Regions from separate parts of the Homo sapiens genome. Here all the other regions are linked to region 2. The links are contacts of gene promoters, found by promoter capture Hi-C in blood cells and fetal thymus (Javierre and others, 2016). All regions are on one chromosome and are shown on one strand. The core of a region is centred on a gene start or on the middle of the fragment in contact, and the rest is flanking DNA. Distances in the headings are between cores, read along the strand shown. Region 1 overlaps LOC105370832 (a long non-coding RNA gene). Region 2 holds the start of CGNL1 (cingulin like 1). Region 3 overlaps LOC105370832 (a long non-coding RNA gene). Region 4 overlaps MNS1 (meiosis specific nuclear structural 1). Region 5 has its middle 11 kb from the start of MNS1.

Region 1 (3,954 bases), core at 1,350-3,849, 880 kb before region 2:
TTTCACTTGACAGACACTCGTGGAATGAACAGAGCAGTGATTCTCGGATCTGTTTCTTATTTTGTGAAAGGAGAAGCTTTCTTAACATACAAACATTTCTACTAACTCTAATATTATAATTCCTAAATTTAAAGTATTAGCTAGTATTGTATGCCTGATACTGTGTTTCCCATTTCGAAGACACAATTGTGACTTTTTGGGGGGAAAGAAAATACACAAGAAACAATTCACTTATAAACTGAATATAAAAAATGCTAGTTGTTAGCAACAGAAAATAACAAAGTTGCTCATACTGGGAGGACATACATGTAGTCAAGAGTCACCAGAGCATTAAAAGGAAGAGGTGCTAGCTGAGCTGAGCTTTGAAATCCCCATACAGTTCTTAAGTCCTGGGCATTTTAAGCCGGGAACGAAGGCTCAGTCAGGGCCACTAGAGGGAGCCAAGGCTTGCAATCTGCAGAACACGCTTTCTGGCTGAATTAGCCTTGGGTTCACAGATTCTAAAACATTTGCTTAGCAGATTGAAAAGGATCATCTTTATCACACATCTACAGGACCATTTCTAAAATGCAAGCTATGTTGAGTTTATTTTCAGTTTTTAGTAATGTTAAACCCCTTTGGAGAAGATAAATATTAAGAACTTAATGTCTGTGCATTTCATGCCATTTTCGCCAGTGAATATATCCTGAGACTTATTGGTGAGCTAATCTGAGATATTTAACAACCCCTGATGGGGTTTCTGGGGATGGAGGTAGAGAAGGACCAGGTGGGATCCTGTTCTATTCCCCTCCCACCTAATCAGACTGGCCGGGAGCTGGGCTGTCCTGGACCCACCAGTTTTCAGAGCTTGAGGTTCTCGCATCATCAGGCCGGGAGTCTAGAGGTTACTACCCACACTTTCAAATACTAAGCCTGTGGGACCAATTATGGCCACCCCCCTAGCCTTTTCAGTCAGTCCAACGCCACAGAAAGCCCTAAGCAAGTAGTGTTTAAAAGTACCTGGATGTTCTGGGGCAGCAGTGTGAGCAGTCTGGCCACCGTCACCAGACCTGGCCCTAGTGCTGGGTCTTGATGGACGGCTCAGGGTGAAGGAGCGAGGCTCCCATTCAAAGTCGGATGATAAGAGTGAGGAGTAGCTGGAAGGTGAGGGAGAGTAAATGGCTAATGTCCTGATTGATTGCCCTGCCTCAAAGAGGGTGACACTAGACAAGGTGAAATCACAAGAAATCACACATTTACTAAATGATTAGCATGGATCATATTTTCTTGCCATGTATATAAATGTTTATTTGTACTAAAATTTGGGACACAGAAACTTAAGAAATAAAAAAAGAATATTGCAACTACAAAGCCATTGTGAATTATCCTCAGTATCCCTGAGAAGAACCCTCACGCTATGAGGAGGACACTCCAGGGGACCCCGGCATGGAGGGGTCTCCCATACTACTTACTCCCAGTGCCACCAGATAGACCAGCTGCTGCAGAGCCTGCAACGTGAGAGTGGAGTACCTGAGAGGCCCCCTTTTCATCCAAAAGCCACTTGCAGAAAGCCTCTTAATGTGGCTGTCATCCAGCTTCCAGCTAAGCTGAGGGCAGGAGACTGAAGACTCATGTCTAGAAAGAAGAAAGAATAGCAAGTTGATTGGGCAGTCTTCTAAGTTGAGTTTGCAAAAAGCAGTGCATTATCCAGTACTCCTCTGTGCCTCCCATACTGCTGTCCTGGCACCCTCATGCTTTTCCTCTCCCTCTAAATCCTAAGGGAATAAGAAAAGGGAGATAAAAGCAAGCAAACAGAAATAAAAAAAAAGGATATTGCGTGGAGACTTTCTTTGGCCACTAGAGATGCCCAGTGAGGGTGAGCCAGATGAGCAGAATCAAGAACAAGGCTGGAGCTGCTACTCCTAGAGGTGGGGCAGGACAGAGTTCCAGGCAGCATCAGGGAGAGAAAACAAGGGTGTCCTGACTTGTCTGGAACCTGCTGTTCAGGCTGGAGGGCTGTGGAAAGCCAACCCCAAGGAAGAGTAAGGAATTAAGAGGAGAGGTCTGAGCTGCAGAGGGCTAGGTTGCTCCTGTCTGTGCTGTCTGAACTGCTCAACCACTGTGGCTTTTCTCAGAAATAGGCTCCACCTGGCATCCCTCCAGATGAAGTGCAAACTCTAGAGGCAGAGTATGGGCTGAATTGAGAGAGAAGTGGCCAGCACTCATGCCCAGACTCCAGGAGCACAGTTTGAACCCTACATAAAATAGAGTGGGGGCCAGGACTGCAGCAGGTAGAGTAAACACACGGTCTAACGTGCTGGGGCGAGACCAGGTGGGGTCAGTGCCCTGTCTCTGCCTGACTCTGCCAAAGGAGAGTGGGACTGGAAGCTTCCCTGCACTTGTGGGGTGTGGATAATAGGGGACTAGTGAAATTTAGAAACAAGAAGAGAGGCAGCTTTCTTTCTATGGGGGAGCTGGGGTTGGCCACATCAAGAAGAGCTCCAATTCAGGCAGATCAAAGTGTTCTTTCAGTAAGCCCTCTGGAGGCTCAGTGTCTTAGTCTGTTTTGCGCTGCTATAACATAGCATACCTGAGAAGACTGGCTAAAAGCAGAAATTTATGTCTCATATTCCTAGATGCTGGCAAGTCCAAGATCAAGGTGTTGACATCTGACCAGGGCCTTCTTGCTGTGTCATAACATGGTAGAAGGACAGAGAGAGAGGGACCAAACTCGTCTTTTTATAAGGAACATGCTCCTGCCATAACCGCATTAATTCATTCATGAGGGCAGAGCCCCCATGATCCAAACACTTCCCATTAGGCCTCATCACCCAACACCATTGCTTTGGGAATCAAGCTTTCAACATGTTAACTTTGGTGGGTCAGGGAGGAACATTCAAACTATAGCACTCAGCATGAATTGTAGCCACAATCACAGTTGGCACATATGACTCTGTGGTCTGGTTTTAAATTGGACTTAAAGCTTGGTAAAGGCCAAAATGCATTCAAACTTGGGTACTCTTCCCCAAACCCCACATATCAAATCCTTCAAGATTGGGTTCAGGTGCCACTGTCTCCATAAAATCATCTGAGTCTCTCAGCTGACCCACTACCTCCCTCACCTGAGATTCCACAGCCTTGTTTTCACCTTCCACATGGGTTTCCATCTTTGATAACTGGTGCACACGTACTCTTTCTCATGCCTCACTGAAAGGTCTGTGAGGCCAGTGCTCCTTTCTTGGGCATCTCTGTCTCCCCCTACAGCACCCAGCACAGTGGCTTGGAAGTTTCACTAGATGCTTGTAGAACAAATAGAGCAGCAGTTCTCTGGATCTGTTTTCTATTGTGTTAAAGGCAGAAGCTATATAAATGTTTCCCCAAAGTCATTTTTCTGATTCTCTAATTTAGGTTAAGTATTAAATACCTACCACATATCTGATCTTGTGTGTTCTGATTTCAAAGAAATGAAAGACACAATTGTGATCTCATTGTGGTAACACAACATAGAAGGAACAATTAGACTATGAGACTAATATAATAAATTGCTTAATTGTACCACATTGTAAGAGGAGATCAGAAGAGGGAGAGCTGCATGTGGTCCAGGGAGGGAAGGGAGAGCTAAAAGGGAGAGTAGTTGGTTACACTAAGCTTTGAAGATGGGTAGGATGTGCACAGGATGGCAGCCCTACTGATGTTGCAGCCCTTGCCCTTGATGCCCTGCCCTGGGCCTGGAGCCTGCAGTGACCCATCTCCTAGAGCTGTCCTGGTTTTCTTGTTGTTGGTTATGCCTCCCAAGCAGAAATTGCAGTAGTTATTGAGAAGGGACAACCATCAGGACACTTCTTGGATTTTTGTTTCTCATAAACTGAGAAAACTGGGCTGGGCTGGCTGAGAGTCCTCCGTGACTACACCCTCCTTCTCAGCTAAGTAGGAACAAGTTTCATTACAATGCTTTCCACTTGTCAAACACAGACC
Region 2 (4,146 bases), core at 1,450-3,949:
AAAGTTCCACCATTACTTCATGCTCCATGGAACCTTCAGGAGCTCTCCTGAAAAGCAGCCTCTTTCCATATTGTTCCTATTTCTGATGCTCCAAGGCACCCAGCCTGGAAGCCTCAGCTTTGCCTTTGCCAGTTCCACTCCCTCATTGCACACATCTGGTCACCAAGACATCTGGTCTTCCAAACAAGAGCCCTTCCCTTCCCTTTTCCCTTCCCTTCCCTTCCCTTTTCCCTTCCCTTCCCCTTTTCCTTCCCTGTGCTTCCCTTCCCCTTCTCCTTCCCTTCCCCTTCTCCTGCCTTCCCTCCCTCCCTCCTTTCTCTTTTTCTTCCCTTCCCTTTTTCCTTCCCTTCCTTTTCCCTCCCTTCCCCGTTTCCTTCCCTTCCCTTCCCTTTTTCCTTCCCTTCCCCTTTTTCTTCCCTTCCCCTTTTCCTTACCTTCTGCTTTTCCTTCCCTTCCCCTTCTCTCTCTCCTTCCTTCCTTCATTAGTTCCTTCCTTCCTTCCTTCCCTCCCTCCCTTCCTTCCTTCTCTCCCTCCCTCCCTCCCTCTCTCCTTTCTCTCTTTCTTTTCTTTTCTTTCTTTTTTTGAGACAATTTCATTCTGTTGCCCAGGCTGGAGTCCACTGGGGCAGTCACAGCTCACTGCAACCTCAACCTCCCAGGATCAGTTGATCCTCCCACCTCAGCCTCCTGAGTAGCTGGAACTACAGGCACATGCTACCATGCCTGGCTAATTTGTGTGTGTGTGTGTGTGTGTGTGTGTGTGTGTGTGTGTGTGTGTGTGTGTGTATGCGCTTTTTTTCTTTTTCTTTTTCTTTTTTTTTTGGTAGAGACAGTTTTCGCCATGTTGCCCAGGCTGGTCTTGAATTCCTGTGCTCAGGTGATCCACTGCCTTGGCCTCCCAAAGTGTTGGGATTACAGGCATAAGCCACTGCACCCAGTTGGAAAATTCTTTCCTGTCCCTCCCTGCTGCAACTCCCCATCTACCCCATGACTCTGCTGGTTCCTAGGCCATGGGTCTCCCCCATCTGGTTCCCAGGGCCATTTAGGTGCCCTCTATTGCATGCAGGTTCCATTCTAGTCATTTTGAGGTGTCCAAGTACTGTTTGGTTGCCTTGAGCCCCCTCACTTTGGCATTTGATGCCTTTTCCACCCTCTGACCCCATCCACCTTTCTAGTATGCCTCATCCCATTTTCTAGCATGTGTGTCCTGCCCCAGGCAGCCTCTGCTCAGGAAAGCTGGTCCACCCTCTGGGCACTGTTCACACACCCCATCACCTTGGCTGTCTTCCCCAACCTAGACCTGCTAACTCTGGAATAGTGCAATACCGCTTCCTCCAAAAAGACTCCCTTGACCATGCTGCCCACTTGGGATAAGTAGCATCTTTTTTTTTTTTTCTTTCTTTCCTGGCAATGAATCACTATTATTAGGTCGGAGCAAAAGTAACTGTGGCTTTTCCCATTGAAAGTAATAGCAAAACTGCAATTACTTTTGCACCAACCTATTACTTTTTCAAGTCCTTTTATATTGTTTTGAATTGTTAAGTTTTCAAGGGTCTATTTCATTCAATATGTCAGCAAACATGTATTAAGTACAGGTTGGGCAGGGCGCAGTGGCTCACATCTGTAATCCCAGCACTTTGGGAGGCCGAGGCGGGTAGATTACTTAAGGTCAGGAGTTCGAGACCAGCCTGACCAACGTGGTGAAACCCCGTCTCTACTAAAAACACAAAAATTAGCCGCGCGTAGTGGTGGCCACCTGTAGTCCCAGCTACTCGGGAGGCTGAGGCACGAGAATCGCTTGAACCCGGGAGGCAGAGGCAATGAGCCGAGATCGCGCTACTGCACTCCAGCCTGGGCAAAACAGCAAGACTCCATCTCCAAAAAAAAAAAAAAAAAAAAAAAGTACAGGTTGTTGTTTTCTCAGGGAATCCTCATAGCTGGTGAAGTATCCAGCTTTTCATTTTACGGATGAGTGAACTGGGGTTTAGAACTGATAACATTTTGCCCAAGTTCTCACAGCTAGCGAGAGGCGTGCCGCAGTTTATCGTGGGGTGGGTCTAAACAAGGACCTAAAAACTGTATTCGAATCCCAGCCCTACTACCGCCAGCTGTGTGACCTTACGAGGCGCCTCACTTTACTGTTTCTCCAACAGAGACAGACATTTCTTGTTACCGCGCAAGTGGGATAACCTCCCCACCAGTGTCTAGACACAGTAGGTGCTCAATAAATAGGTGTGGGTTTGCGGTGGCAGAAGAGCGCTATCCCTTAAGTTTCTGACAGTGAGGGGGAAAAAGGCTAAGCAGGGAAAGGAAGGGAAAGGGGTAAACTGAGCTCGGCGCAGTCGAGAGCGCGAAATAGGGAGGGCTTCCTGCAGGCCAGGAATTTGGAGAGGCCGAGGCTGGGAGAAGAAAAATGCCCGGTGACGGCGGAGGGGAGGTGGAAGGACGAACGGCTCCGGGAAGGGGTGAGGTCTAAGCGCAGCCCCGGGCCCAGCGGAGCCGAGGGCGGGTGGTGCGGGGGTTCCTGGGTAGGTTCGTCCCGACGGGCCGCGGGCGGATTGAAGGGAGGGTTGGGCCCGCCGGCAGCCCCGGCGGGTCCAGGCCCCCGGCCAGCCCCTGCCCCTCCTCCCAGGAGGGCGGGCGGCGACTGCGGGGCGGGGCGCGGGCTCGCTCGGCCTCCCGGCGGCGCCGCGGCCCTTGCACTCCGGCCGGGCTCTGCTGGCTGCGGCGGGAGCTGGACGCGGGAGGAGGCGGCGGCGGCGGTGAGTGAGCTCCGGGCTGGAGCGGGGCGGGGTGTGCGCCGGCAGCCGGGTTTCGGGGTGCTAGGGGCCGCCCAGGGCGGCGGGACCCCCAGGGGTTCGGGCTCAGCCAGGTGCACTGTGCTCAGTCCGCGCGTCCACTCTCGGTGACCCGCGCCGCGCGTGTCCTGGGGCTCGAAGATGCGACCCGGACTCCCGCGCCGCGCCCCGCCGAGGGCAGGCGCAGAACAGATGCGGGCGATCCCTGGGGAACCCGCTTCGGGGCGGGGTGGGAGGGAGGAGGCCCTGCAGAACCTCCCTTTAGTGAAGAGGGACTTTCTGCCTTCGCACCCCTGCCTGGACCCTCCGGCTCTAGTGACAGCTGGGAGAGACTCACACGAAGCAGTTTCTGACCTATCCTGTCGTACACAAGTCCTCGGCGTGCTCGGCCGGACCATCCCCTGGAAAGAAAGGGGCGTGTGACCTTTCTCTCCCCGATCCTCCAGACCACTGCGCCGCCCAGGGAGGTCATCCCCGAGAGAGCCCCCGCCTCACTCGGAGCACACATTCTAGCTCTCCCCGGGACTTTTCCAAGTTGCATCACTGTTTGGCCTCTAGACAGGTACTTGGCTGTCATGTTGGAGTTAGTTACACAGGATTTTTGAAACTTTGTATATTTGCTTTGTGTGTTCTTCACCCTAAGGCCGCTGCCCTCCCGACTCTGCTTATGCCGCTCAAAACGTTGCTCAAAGCTCGCTGGGAATGCTTTTGCGGGCATTGGTTCTCAAACTTGGCCCCACATCTGGAGAGTTTTAAAAAATACTGGTGCCTGTGTCCCACTCCCAGAGATCTGGATTCGGCTTGCCTGGGTTGCAGCCTGGACAATGGAATTTTTAAGACGCCGCAGGTGATTCTAATGTGCAGGCAAGTTTGAAAACCTCTGCTTTGAGAGTTGCTCCCACCAGCCACTCTTCGGACGGCTCAAGATCAGTCCTGATCTAGAACTCATCTCAGGTCCTCATAGCTCTTCCCTAATCCACCTCTCCACCTGAAGAACCTGTTGATTGGTGCTTTCCAACTTTAGACAGTAGATGGTGCCTTTACTGAAGATCCCTTTGTTTCTACCTCTCTGTTTACAGTCAATACTGCCAGGGCACTTTCTGCCAAGGAGGTGGGAGTGTAGGCATTAGAACCGAGCAGTCCTTGTCAGGGTCAAGGTTATAATACAGGGTTGTCCTATTCAGGGAAAACCAAGTGATAATTTGACTTGTCATATTCGGGAATGATTTCAGATTAAAAGGAGAAAAAATACTTTAGGGTTTGGTCAGCTTTTGGAGACCCTCCGGAGACTCCCCCACGTAGATAATGGAGTTGCATAAATGTGGAGAATTTTCCTTCAAAAAGCCAA
Region 3 (4,345 bases), core at 1,568-4,067, 860 kb before region 2:
CTATCCCTGTTTGTAGCCAACATGATCCTATAGGTAGAAAGTCCCATGGTCTCAGCCAAAAAGTTTCTTAAGCTGATAAACAACTTCATCAAAGTCTTAGGATGCAAAGTCAATGTGCAAAGATCACTAGTATTCCTAAATACCAGCAACAGTCAAGCCAAGAGCCAAATCAGGAACAAACTCCCATTCATAGTTGACACAAAAAGAATAAAATACCTAGGAATACAGCTAACTAAGGAAGTGAAAGATAGATCTCTACAGTAAGAACTACAAACCACTGCTCAAAAAAATCAGAGATTACACAAACAAATGGAAAAACATTCCACGCTCATGGATAGGAACAATCATTATTGTGAACATGGCCATATTGCCCAAAGTAATTTATAGATTCAATGCTATTCATATTTAACTATCATTGAGATTGTTCACAGAACTAGAAAAAACTATTTTAAAATTCATATGGAACCAAAAAAGAGCCTGAACAGCCACGGCAATCCAGAGCAAAAAGAACAAAGCTGGAGGCATCACACTACCCAACTTCAAACTATACTACAGGGCTACAGTAACCAAAACAGTATGGTACTGGTACAAAAACAGACATGTAGACCAATGAAACAGAATAGAGAACCCAGAAATAAGACCACACATTTACAACTATCTGATCTTTGACAAAGCTGACAAAAACAAACAATGGGGAAAACATTCCCTATTCGATAAATGGTGCTGGGATAACTGGCTAGCCATATGCAGAAGATCAAAACTGGACCCCTTCCTTACACCATATACAAAAATTAAGATGAATTAAAGACTTAAATGTAAAACCCAAAACTAGGCATGCCTCTGGACACTTGGTGGCCACCCCCTGGACCCTCCCTCAAGCGCTGGTGTTTGGGCCTGCCATTGGGTAACCTGTAGGTGGATCTGTTCAGTCTGGTCCCACCCATCTTGGTCCCCCTCTATGAGGTTGAGCAGAGAGCTCAAACCACTGTGTACTTCACAGATTAGCCCACTGCCTGTAGCAACTGAGACCTTCTCTCAGTAAACAAGGATCAAATATATACCCCTGTGTTGGCCACAGCCAGCTCTTACTAGCTATCTACAAGCCTCTAGGTTGAACCACACAGTCCAATATGAAACCAGCTCACAGAAATACACAGGGCTAGAGAAGCAAAGCCAAAAGACTCTACCCAACATTCTCTATAGTCACATTCCCTTGGATGGGGGAAGAAAACAACAAAGGAGAAAAACAATAATAATATTGGAAAGGAAAGGAAAGGAAACAAAAGGAAAGGAAAGGAGAAAGGAGAAAGGGGAGACAGAGGAGAAAGGAGAAAGGAAAGGGGAAAGGAAAGGAAAGGGGAAAGGAAAGGAAAGGGAAAAGGAAAAGGGAAGGGAAAGGAAAAGGGAAAGGATTCTATCCACATGAAAATAATTACAAAACTTAAAAGTGCCAACATCTCCAGATGAGAAGGAACCAGCATAAAAATTCTGGCACCATGAAAAAATCTGAATACTGTGACACTATTTGTTAATTTGAGATCTTTCTAGCTCTCCAGCAATGGTCACTAACCAAAATGGAAATTCAGAAATGACAAATAAAGAATTCACAGCATGGGTATCAAGGAAGCTCGATAAATTTCAAGACAAGGTTGAAAATCTACACAAAGAAACTTCTAAACAATCCAGGAAATGAAGGAAGAGATAAACATCTTTAAAAAATCAATCAGAGCTTCTGAACTTAAAAAATTCACATAAGGAATTTCTCAATACAATTGAAAACTTTATCAATAGAGTAGACCAAGTAGAAGAAAAAATTTCAGAGCTTGAAGATCAATCTGTCAAACTAATCCATTCAGAAAAAAAAAATAAGAATTTTAAAAAATAAACAAGTCTTTGAGAAAGGTAGGATTATATAAAGTGAAAAAATCTACAAATTATTGGCATTCCTGAGAAGGAGAAAAGGTAAACAACCTGGAAAACCTATTTGAGGGAATAATCCAAGAAAATTTCCCTAATCTTGCTAGACGGGTAGACATCCAGGTACAAGAAATACATATAATATCAGCAAGATACTATACAAAACAATCATCACCAAGGCATAAAGTGACAAGACTGCCCCAAGTCAACACTAAGGAAAAAATCCTAAGGGCAGCTAGAGAAAAAGGTTAGATGACCTACAAAGGGAGCCTCATCAGGATAACAACAGACTTCTTAGCAGAAGAAAGCTTACACAAGTCAGAAGAGATTGGGGGCCTACTCAGCATTCTTAAAGAACACAAATTCCAACCAAGAATTTTATATCCCATCAAACTAAGCTCCATAAACAAAGGAAAAATAAAATCTTTTCCAGACTAGCAGCTACTAAGGTAAATTTTTACCACTAGACCACCCTAACAAGAGATCCTCAAGGTTTTAAACATGGAAACTAAAGAACTGTATCTGCTACCACAAAAACACACTTAAGTACATAGTCCACAAACCCTATAAAGCAACTACACAATAGATACTGCAAAGCAACCAGCTAACAACTTCACAATAGGATGAAAACCTCACATAGCAATGCTAACTTTGAATGTAAATGGTCTAACTGCCCCATCAGAAAGGCACACAGTGGCAAGTTAAATTAAAAAAGAAAGCAAGATCCATCCATCTTCTATCTTCAAAAGGCCCATCTTACACTTAATGATATCCATGGGCACAGAGGAAAGGATTGGAGAAAGATCTATTACAACAAACAGGAAAAAAAAAGAACATGGTTTGCTATTCTTGTATCAGATAGACTTGAAATCAACAACAGTAAAAAAGGACAAAGAAAGGCATTACACAGTGATAAAAGGTTTAATTCAACAAAAAGATTTAATTATCCTAAATATATATGCACTTAATATTGGAGTACTCAGATTCATAAAACAAGTACTTCTAGACCTATGAAAAAACTTAGATATCCACACATTAATAGTGAGGGACTTCAACATCCCACTCAAAGTGTTAGATCATCAAGACATAAAATTAACAAAGAAATTCTGGACTTAAATCAATTTGGCCAATTGTACCTAATAGACATCTACAGACTACTTCACCCATCAACCATAGAATATACATTCTTATCTGTATGTGGAACATAATTTAAGATCAACCACATGCTTGGTCATAAACCAAGTCTCAACACATTTTTAAAAATTGAAATCATACCAACTTACCTTGGACCACAGTGGAATAAAAATAGAAATAAATACCAAGAAGATCCCTCAAAAACCACACAATTAAATGGAAATTAAACAACTTGCTCCTGAATGACTTTTGGGTAAACAACAACATTAAGGCAAAAATAGAAATCCTTTTAAGTAACTGAAAACAGAGACACAACATATCAGAATCTCTGGCATGTAGCAAAAGCAGTGTTAAGAGGAAAGCTTTTCACACTAAACACCTACATAAAGAAGTTAGATCTCACATTAACAATCTAACATCACATCTAGAGGAACTAGAAAAACTGGAGCAAACTAAGCCCAAAGCTAGCAGAAAATTTTTTTAAAAAGCTATAATCAGAGCAGAACTGAAGGAAATTGATATCCAAAAATTCATCCAAAGAATTAACAAAACTAAGAGTTTGTCTTTTGAAAGGATAAACGAGATCAATAGAATGCTAGCTAGATTAACAAAGAAAAAAGAGAGAAGATCCAAATAAGCACAATCAGAAACAACAAAGGTGACATTACAACCAATCCCACAGAAATGCAAAAGATCCCAGAGACTATTATTAACACTTCTATGCACATAAACTAGAAAATCTAGAGGAAACGGAAACACACAACCTGCCAAGATTGAATCAGGAAGAAACTGAAACTGCAAACAGATCGATATAGGGTTCCAAAATTGAATCCATCATAAAAAAAAATTGCCAACCAAAAAAAGCCCTGGGCCAGAGGGATTCATATCCAATTCTACCAGATGTACAGAGAACTGGTATCAATTCTACTGAAACTATTCCAATAAATCAAGGAGAAGGGACTCCTCCCTAACTTATTCTACAAAGCTAGCATCACCCTGATACCAAAACCTAGCAAAGACACAATGAAAAAAGAAAACTACAGGCTAGTATCCCTGATGGACATAGATGCAACCTATGTTGAGGAACCTAGTAGTCCTCAACAAAATATTAGCAAATCAATCAAACAGCACATTAAAAAGGTAATTCACCATAATCAAGTAGGCTTAATTCATGGTATGCAAGTTTGGTTCAACATACTCAAATCAATACATTTGATTCACCACATAAAGAGAATTAAAAACAAAGCCCATATGATTTCTCAATAGATGCAGAGAAAGATTTTGATAAAATTCC
Region 4 (3,942 bases), core at 874-3,373, 940 kb before region 2:
TGATTTTCGTAGAGGTAGACAGAATTACAGATACCTATTTAGGAATGTCTCTGAAATCCAAAAAACATGGTTAGACCTTATAGGATTGTATAATGAGTTTCATCACGAAGATCTGTCCTTGACTTGGGGCCAGAACAAAAATGTTGCCCAATCAAACGGACAAAACTAAGCCGACAGCTTCATATTGGGAACATTTATAAGTCTTTAAAAATTAAGACAAAAATTATTTGTATAAGTATCTATGCATTAGGTGGCTTTATCTGATTTCCATTTAGTTTTTAGTCTGATTTCTAGTTAGTTGTCTTGCTAACTTTTCCAGGAGCTTTCTCCTATCCAAGTACTAACCAGGCCTGATCCTGCTTAGCTTCTGAGAACAGATGAGCTCCAATCTGAAATATAACAGCACTTGTATTCCCATGAGTTTCTCATATTTGAAACATCTGCATTATTTTGACTCCTACTTTGTATAGTTTTAAAAGAAGTCATGTAAGTCTCACTTAGTCTTCCTCTAAATTCTTCTCTTCCTACCGATTTTCAAAACACCTACATATTATCCATTTGGTTCTTAAACCACAAAATCTAGTGAGACAATATAAGTATTTAGTTTTACGGATGAGACATAAATAAGTCAATGTATCCAAAGCCAAAAACTTCATTCCCTCTCCAACACTTAAATCTACATTTCCAACTAGTAATCTTCCCCTGGGCCACCAAATCATTTTGGGTGGACAAAATAGAATTATTTGCACCCTCAAAATCTATTTCTTTTCCTCTATACTCTTTCCTTAGGATGTCACCCAGTCACCCATTAAAGATGGAAGTGACACATGGACACAGGGAGAGGAACATCATCACACACCAGGGCCTGTCGGGGGGTGGGGGGGACAAGGGGAAGGGAGAGCATTAGGACAAATACCTAATGCATGCAGGGCTTAAAACCTAGATGACGGGTTGATAGGTGCAGCAAACCACCATGGCACATGTATACCTGTGTAACAAACCTGCATGTTCTGCACATGCATCCTGGAACTTAAAAATATTAAAAAAATAATTAAAAAGATGGAATGACAGTATTATTTATTAGGGGTAGCCTTAAGTCTTCTCTCACCCTAGATCTCACTGGTCACCAAGCCCCATCAATTCCGTATCCTTAACATCTCTCGGGTGGATCCCTTATCTATTTGCATGGGTTTCACCACTTGTCACTGGGATTATTATAATAACTTACTTACTGATCTCCCTATCTCCGAGCTTACTCATCTCTTATCTACCTTCAATGCTCTCACTTGAATCGTCTTTCAAAGTACAGATCTTAATATACAGCTTTTCAATCTTCAGTGGCTTCCCTTAGAAAAGCCCACCTTCTTAAAATAGCATGCAGGGTGTTCATGATCTGTTTCTCTCTCTGCCATACCAAAACATCCATAGCTCTATAACCTATTATCACATGTACATGACATATTTATAATTACTTTTTATATATTTTTCTTAACCAAGACCATAAATTCATAAGTGACATGGACTTAGTTTTATTTACCTTTTATGTTCTCAATACCAACCAGTGTTTAGCACATAGAAAGCATCAATAAATATTTTCTAGAAGCAAAAATGGTCAGAAAATTTATATATATATTAGTAAACATACTAACATTGTCTGGCATATAAAGCTTCTCAGTAAATGTTTAGTGGATGATAGATGAGCTATTGCTGTTTAATGATAATGACCAAAAAAACCCCACAACTTTTTCTTACTTTGTCTGCAAGGAATTGTTGGCGACGCTCTTCAATAAGTTTTTCCACAGCCCTCCTGTGTTCCAGCTGCTTCATTCTTTGTTTCTGAGCATTCATTAATTCTATTCGATCATCCTCAGCAAATTTAGCTAGCATAGTTTTTCTAAAGTTCTCCTCTTCCTCTTTTGCAGCCTGTAGCACTAATTCCTTCAAGGCCATTTGTTCTTCAAAATCTTGCTTCATCTCTTTTTGCTTTCTCAATTTCTTTTCTGCTTCTTCCTAAACAATACAGCTGAAAGTTAATTTAGTAACTATTTCCTTACACCAGATTTATAAGGAAAGAGTGATAGAGTTTGGTTAAATTTAGTATTACAATATGAAATCATACAAACTGAAAAAGTAAGGCTTTTCATGATAACTTTGTCCATCCCTTTAAAACTAGCTGGATAAAGAATATGCTTACATTTGGATTGTTTTCTGTTACTCATGAACAAATTTTAATTTATATTTACCATCTTGTTTCTCTACTCAGAATTAACACGTAACTGCTTTGGAAAGAGCTGTTACAAAAGCCTTTTTTGCACACCTGAGTTTATTCATCTAAAGTCTATGGTAACTATGAATCATTCTAGAATCTTGCTTACAAAAGCTGTCCAAACCACCCATAAGTATTTTTCAGTTTCCAACCTCCTCCTCAAAATCAAAGCTGCACTTACCCATCTCTAGTCTTCTAATATTCCCTTCATTCTCCAAAATTCTCTAAAATTTAAAAACAATTATCTAGCAATGACAATCAGTACTTCTTTAGGGAAATTCAAATATAGTTGGAACAGTTAAGTCCTTTCCTATAAGCTTTTATTTTCTGAACATTTTATTATGAAAAATTTCATACATACTAAAAAATATAATTTTACAATGGTCACTCACTTCTAAATAATTCATGGGCCAAAGAGGGAATGCCAAGGAAAATAAATACATTGTAGTTAATAAAAGTGAGACAGCAAAATTTGTGAGATGCTGCTAAAGCAGTTCTGAGAAACATTTATAGCACTAAATGGATACATTTAGGAAAATGTATATATATAGCACTAAATGCATGTATGTAGGAAAAGTCTCAAATCGATAATCTAAGCCCCCACTTCAAGAACCTATAAAAAGAACTGTAAAGTAAACCCAAAATATGCAGAAGGAAAAACATAATAAAACTGTAGAAATCAATGGAATTAAAAATAGAAAATAGACAATTATTGGTGAAACAAAAGGCTGGTTCTTAAAAATTATCAGTGAAATGGACAGACCTTTAACAAGGCTGACCTAGAAAAAAAAAATGAATGAATAAACAAATAACTAATATCAGGAATAAAACATAGGATATCACTAGAGACCCTACAGACATCAAAAGGATAATACAGGAATACTACAAATTATTATACACACATAAATTTGGCAACTTAGATGAAATGGATCACTTCCTTGAGAAACACAAGCTACCAAAACTCACCAAATATGAAATAAGGTAATCTGAATAGTCCTATCACTATTAAGGAGACGGAATTAATAACTTAAAATTCCTCCAAAATAAAACCCCAAGTCAGGATGGTTTCACTAGAAAATTCTATCAAATATTTAAAAAATTAACACGAATTCTACACAATCTCTTCCAGAAAACAGAAGAGGAGGAAACATATCCCCATTCATTTTATGAAGATAGTATTACCCCGCTACCAATATAAAAAATTACAGACCAATATTCCTCGTGAATATGGATGCACAAATCCTTAACCCAATATTAGAAAAATAGATCATACATTAAAAGAATTATTCACCATGACCAAGTAGTGTTTATTACAGGGATGCAAGACTGGTTCAATACTCAAAAATCAATGTAATATACTTGGCTAAAGAAGAAAAAGTCATAATCATATCAGTAGAAAAAAGTGTTTAACCAAGGATATCCAGGAATTGAACTCAGTTCTGCACCAAGCAGACCTAATAGACATCTACAGAACTCTCCAGCCCAAATCAACAGAATATACATTCTTCTCAGCACCACACCGCACTTATTCCAAAGTTGACCACATAGTTGGAAGTAAAGCACTCCTCAGCAAATGTAAAAGAACAGAAATTATAACAAACTGTCTCTCAGACCACAGTGCAATCAAACTAGAACTCAGGATTAAGAAACTCACTCAAAACCGCTCAGCTACATGG
Region 5 (3,829 bases), core at 1,253-3,752, 900 kb before region 2:
TGTTTTTTGGTAGAGATGTGGTTTCACCATGTTGGCCAGGCTGGTCACGACCTCCTTACGACAAGTGATCTGCCTGCCTTGGCCTCCCAAAGTGCTGGGATTACAGGCATGAGCCACCATGCCCAGCCCATGCACTCCTTTTAATGCTTATGTATTTAAGCAGTACTGATATTTTCTATGTTTCTCTTAAATATTATAGTTCATATCTACTTTAGATTTAAAAATTAAATCTCAAAAGTTCTAGTTTATTGAACTTTGATTTCCAATATCCAGTTTCTACTTCTGTGTCATGTTTATTTGCACCAATAATATCTCTGACATACAGAAAGGTGAGAAGAATAATATAAACACCCATGTATCCATAATCTGACACAAGAAAAAATGTGGAACCTGGCTCTGTGCATCAGAGCACCTCTCCTGTCTCATTTCTTCCACCCAGAGATAACATTGTACTGTATTTAATAGTGTTTATCATTCTTGTGCATGCCTTTATACTTTCAACTTGTAAGAGATATGTGATACTATTTTGCATGCTGTAATAAGATGGAGTCATATTTCTGCAAATCTCTTTAGACACCATGTTTGTGAGAATATTCCACTGTAGTACATGTACATCTACTTTGTCTTTGACAAGCTATGACTTATATTTTTACTTTCTCTAAAATGTCTATTAATGCACAGAAACTTTAAATTTAATATAGTCAAATTTATCATTTTATGTTTTCTGCTTTTTGCCTTCAGTAATCATTTACTAATCTCAGATCATAAAGCTTTTCATAATACACCTTTAATTCACCTGGGATTTATTTTGGATAATGTGAGGTAGGTGTCCAATTTTATTACTCTTTTGTCCATATGGATAACAAGGTCCCTGCACCACTATCTCTCCCTATTAATCTATAATGTACTGATTTCATACTGTTTTAATTATGATCTGTTTATAATAATACTTGCTACCTTGTAGAGCAAGACCTTAATTTGTTCTTCTGAACATTTTTGGCTATTCTTTGCCCTCTATTCTTCTATATAAATTTTGATTTTCCTTGTCAAGTTTCATGGAAAAAACTGTTGAGAACTTTATTGGAATTTAATTGAATTTATGTATCAACTTTTAAAAAGCCAAACAATTTAAATTCTATTCATGTACACGGTGCATCTTTATTTTGTCTTTTAAAAATGTCTTTTAAGTTTTATAATTTTCTCTATAAAGATTTCATGCTTTTTTGTTAGATTTATTCCTAGATATTTTAAATTATTTGTTGCTGTCATAAATAATATCTATATTATTATTTGGGGTCGAAACAGGAAACAGTACCCTCAAAGTGAGTCATTTAAAAAGATGCAGACGAGGTTTAAGGAGATCAGCAGGAATTGTACAGTACCCAGGAGCCAGTAACTTTGGGGAAATATCACTACTCCTGAGTCTAAGGGAAAGGGGAGAAGGCACTTTTCTAGAGCCCAAAGATAGAAAGAGCTATGTGAAGAGACCCCTTTGATGGCAGCTGTGAACTTTGGTCAAAGGATGCAGCTCACCAAGAACAACCTCAGAGGGACAGTTGAGGCAACACAAACCTCATCTTCTTTTCTTCCTTCATTGGATCTTCTGATGATGCAACCACAAGCTAAACCCAATGAGAGCTCAAAGAGCAAGACAGACAGTTAGTTGCCAGCCAGTCTTCCAAGGCACCACCAGTGTAGAGAAGGGTGGAGGGAAATCTGGAGGGGCAAGTAGATGTCCACCACTGTATCTTTTTCAAACTTAAGTTTCTGTTTTTGCTGGTGTCTTGAGAATGCAAATGATTTCTGTATGTCAACTTTATATCCGCTAATCTTGCTGAACTTCATTTTAAGTTCTAATCATTTATCTGTAAACTGGCTTGAGTTTTTTTTTTAATATACTTTTAAGTTTTAGGGTACATGTGCACAACATGCAGGTTAGTTACATATGTATACATGTGCCATGTTGGTGTGCTGCACCCATTAACTCGTCATTTAACATTAGGTATATCTCCTAATGCTCTCCCTCCCCCCTCCCCCCACCCCACAACAGGCCCTGGTGTGTGATGTTCCCCTTCCTGTGTCCATGTGTTCTCATTGTTCAATTCTCACCTATGAGTGAGAACATGTGGTGTTTCGTTTTTTGTCCTTGCGATAGTTTCCTGAGAATGATGGTTTCCAGCTTCATCCATGTGCCTACAAAGGACATGAACTCATCATTTTTTATGGCTGCATAGTATTCCATGGTGTATATGTGCCACATTTTCTTAATCCAGTCTATCATTGTTGGACATTTGGGTTGGTTCCAAGTCTTTGCTATTGTGAATAGTGCCACAATAAACATACGTGTGCATGTGTCTTTATAGCAGCATGATTTATAATCCTTTGGGTATATACCCAGTAATGGGATGGCTGGGTCAAATGGTATTTCTAGTTCTAGATCCCTGAGAAATCACCACACTGACTTCCACAATGGTTGAACTAGTTTACAGTCCCACCGACAGTGTAAAAGTGTTCCTGTTTCTCCACATCCTCTCCAGCACCTGTTGTTTCCTGACTTTTTAATGATTGCCATTCTAACTGGTGTGAGATGGTATCTCATTGTGGTTTTGATTTGCATTTCTCTGACGGCCAGTGATGATGAGCATTTTTTCACGTGTCTTTTGTCTGCATCAATGTCTTCTTTTGAGAAGTGTCTGTTCATATCCTTTGCCCACTTGTTGATGGGGTTGTTTGTTTTTTTCTTGTAAATTTGTTTGAGTTCATTGTAGACTCTGGATATTAGCCCTTTGTCAGATGAGTAGATTGCAAAATTTTTCTCCCATTCTGTAGGTTGCCTGGTCACTCTGATGGTAGTTTCTTTTGCTGTGCAGAAGCTCTTTAGTTTAATTAGATCCCATTTGTCAATTTTGGCTTTTGTTGCCATTGCTTTTGGTGTTTTAGACATGAAGTCCTTGCCCATGCCTATGTCCTGAATGGTATTGTCTAGGTTTTCTTCTAGGGTTTTTATGGTTTTAGGTCTAACATTTAAGTCTTTAATCCATCTTGAATTAATTTTTGTATAAGGTGTAAGGAAGGGATCCAGTTTCAGCTTTCTACATACAGTTAGCCAGTTTTCCCAGTACCATTTATTAAATAGGGAATCGTTTCCCCATTTCTTTTTTTTTCAGGTTTGTCAAAGATCAGATGGTTGTAGATATGCGGCATTATTTCTGAGGGCTCTGTTCTGCTTGAGTTTTTTATTATTGTCCTTTTCCTTCCTCTTACTCCATTTTAAGTTTTTTTCTTCCCTCATTGGGCTAGCTGGAACCTATAAGAAAATGATAAATAGAAGAATTAATAGGTGTATTTTTGACTTATATGTTTGACATCTCATTATGAAGTATGATGTTTGCTGTAGTTTTGTTTTTTCTTTTATTATTGAAAAGCAATATATGTGCATTGTGGAAAGTTAGGCTATATAGATACCTAAATATTTTTAAAAATGCTATGTTTCTATCACTCAGAGATTACAGTTAACACCTTAGAGAGTTACAGTATATACATATATATTTACTTTTTAATGAAAGGAGATCATACTGTACATGTAGTAGTATAAAGGTTGCATGCTATAAACTGCTTTTCATGCTGTAGGTGTTTTATTCCCCGTTTCCCCATATTTATGAAGAGTTTTCATCCTAAATGGGAATTCAATTTTTTAATACCTTAAAATGACACAACTTGATTATCTTACAGTTCTGTAGCTCAGGAGTCAAACCTAGACCTTATTAGGCAAAGATTAAGGTATTGGCAGGGTGCGTCTGTTTCTGAAAGCTCTAAGATAGAGCCACTT

What was found. The method cuts DNA at HindIII sites, captures the fragments that hold promoters and counts their contacts. A CHiCAGO score of 5 or more calls a contact.
Region 1: a contact is called between a fragment that was not itself captured here and the fragment with the promoter of CGNL1 in region 2, in 2 of 17 cell types (total CD4 T cells and non-activated CD4 T cells). The highest score is 8.0, in total CD4 T cells.
Region 3: a contact is called between a fragment that was not itself captured here and the fragment with the promoter of CGNL1 in region 2, in 1 of 17 cell types (naive CD8 T cells). The highest score is 6.0, in naive CD8 T cells.
Region 4: a fragment that was not itself captured here is called in contact with the fragment with the promoter of CGNL1 in region 2 in 1 of 17 cell types (naive CD8 T cells); the score reaches 5.7 in naive CD8 T cells.
Region 5: a fragment that was not itself captured here is called in contact with the fragment with the promoter of CGNL1 in region 2 in 1 of 17 cell types (naive CD4 T cells); the score reaches 5.3 in naive CD4 T cells.

The regions. Positions count from the first base shown.
Region 1 is chr15:56,490,887-56,494,840 of GRCh38, forward strand. LOC105370832 (a long non-coding RNA gene) reads right to left here. Exons shown (of 4, transcript XR_007064652.1): 4 at 1,262-1,614. Among named protein-coding and RNA genes, the nearest start is that of MNS1, 28 kb to the left of the region's middle. RefSeq lists an enhancer at 305-599. The HindIII fragment of the contact is 469 bases long and covers 2,366-2,834 here.
Region 2 is chr15:57,373,806-57,377,951 of GRCh38, forward strand. CGNL1 (cingulin like 1) reads left to right here and starts at 2,700. Exons shown (of 19, transcript NM_032866.5): 1 at 2,700-2,762. The HindIII fragment of the contact is 10,841 bases long and covers 1-4,146 here.
Region 3 is chr15:56,517,857-56,522,201 of GRCh38, forward strand. All of the region lies in intron 1 of LOC105370832 (a long non-coding RNA gene), which reads right to left. Among named protein-coding and RNA genes, the nearest start is that of MNS1, 55 kb to the left of the region's middle. The HindIII fragment of the contact is 1,188 bases long and covers 2,224-3,411 here.
Region 4 is chr15:56,432,386-56,436,327 of GRCh38, forward strand. It overlaps MNS1 (meiosis specific nuclear structural 1), which reads right to left. Exons shown (of 10, transcript NM_018365.4): 8 at 1,753-2,010. It also overlaps a transcript of TEX9 not described here. Among named protein-coding and RNA genes, the nearest start is that of MNS1, 31 kb to the right of the region's middle. The HindIII fragment of the contact is 916 bases long and covers 1,666-2,581 here.
Region 5 is chr15:56,473,938-56,477,766 of GRCh38, forward strand. No RefSeq gene overlaps it. Among named protein-coding and RNA genes, the nearest start is that of MNS1, 11 kb to the left of the region's middle. The HindIII fragment of the contact is 3,468 bases long and covers 769-3,829 here.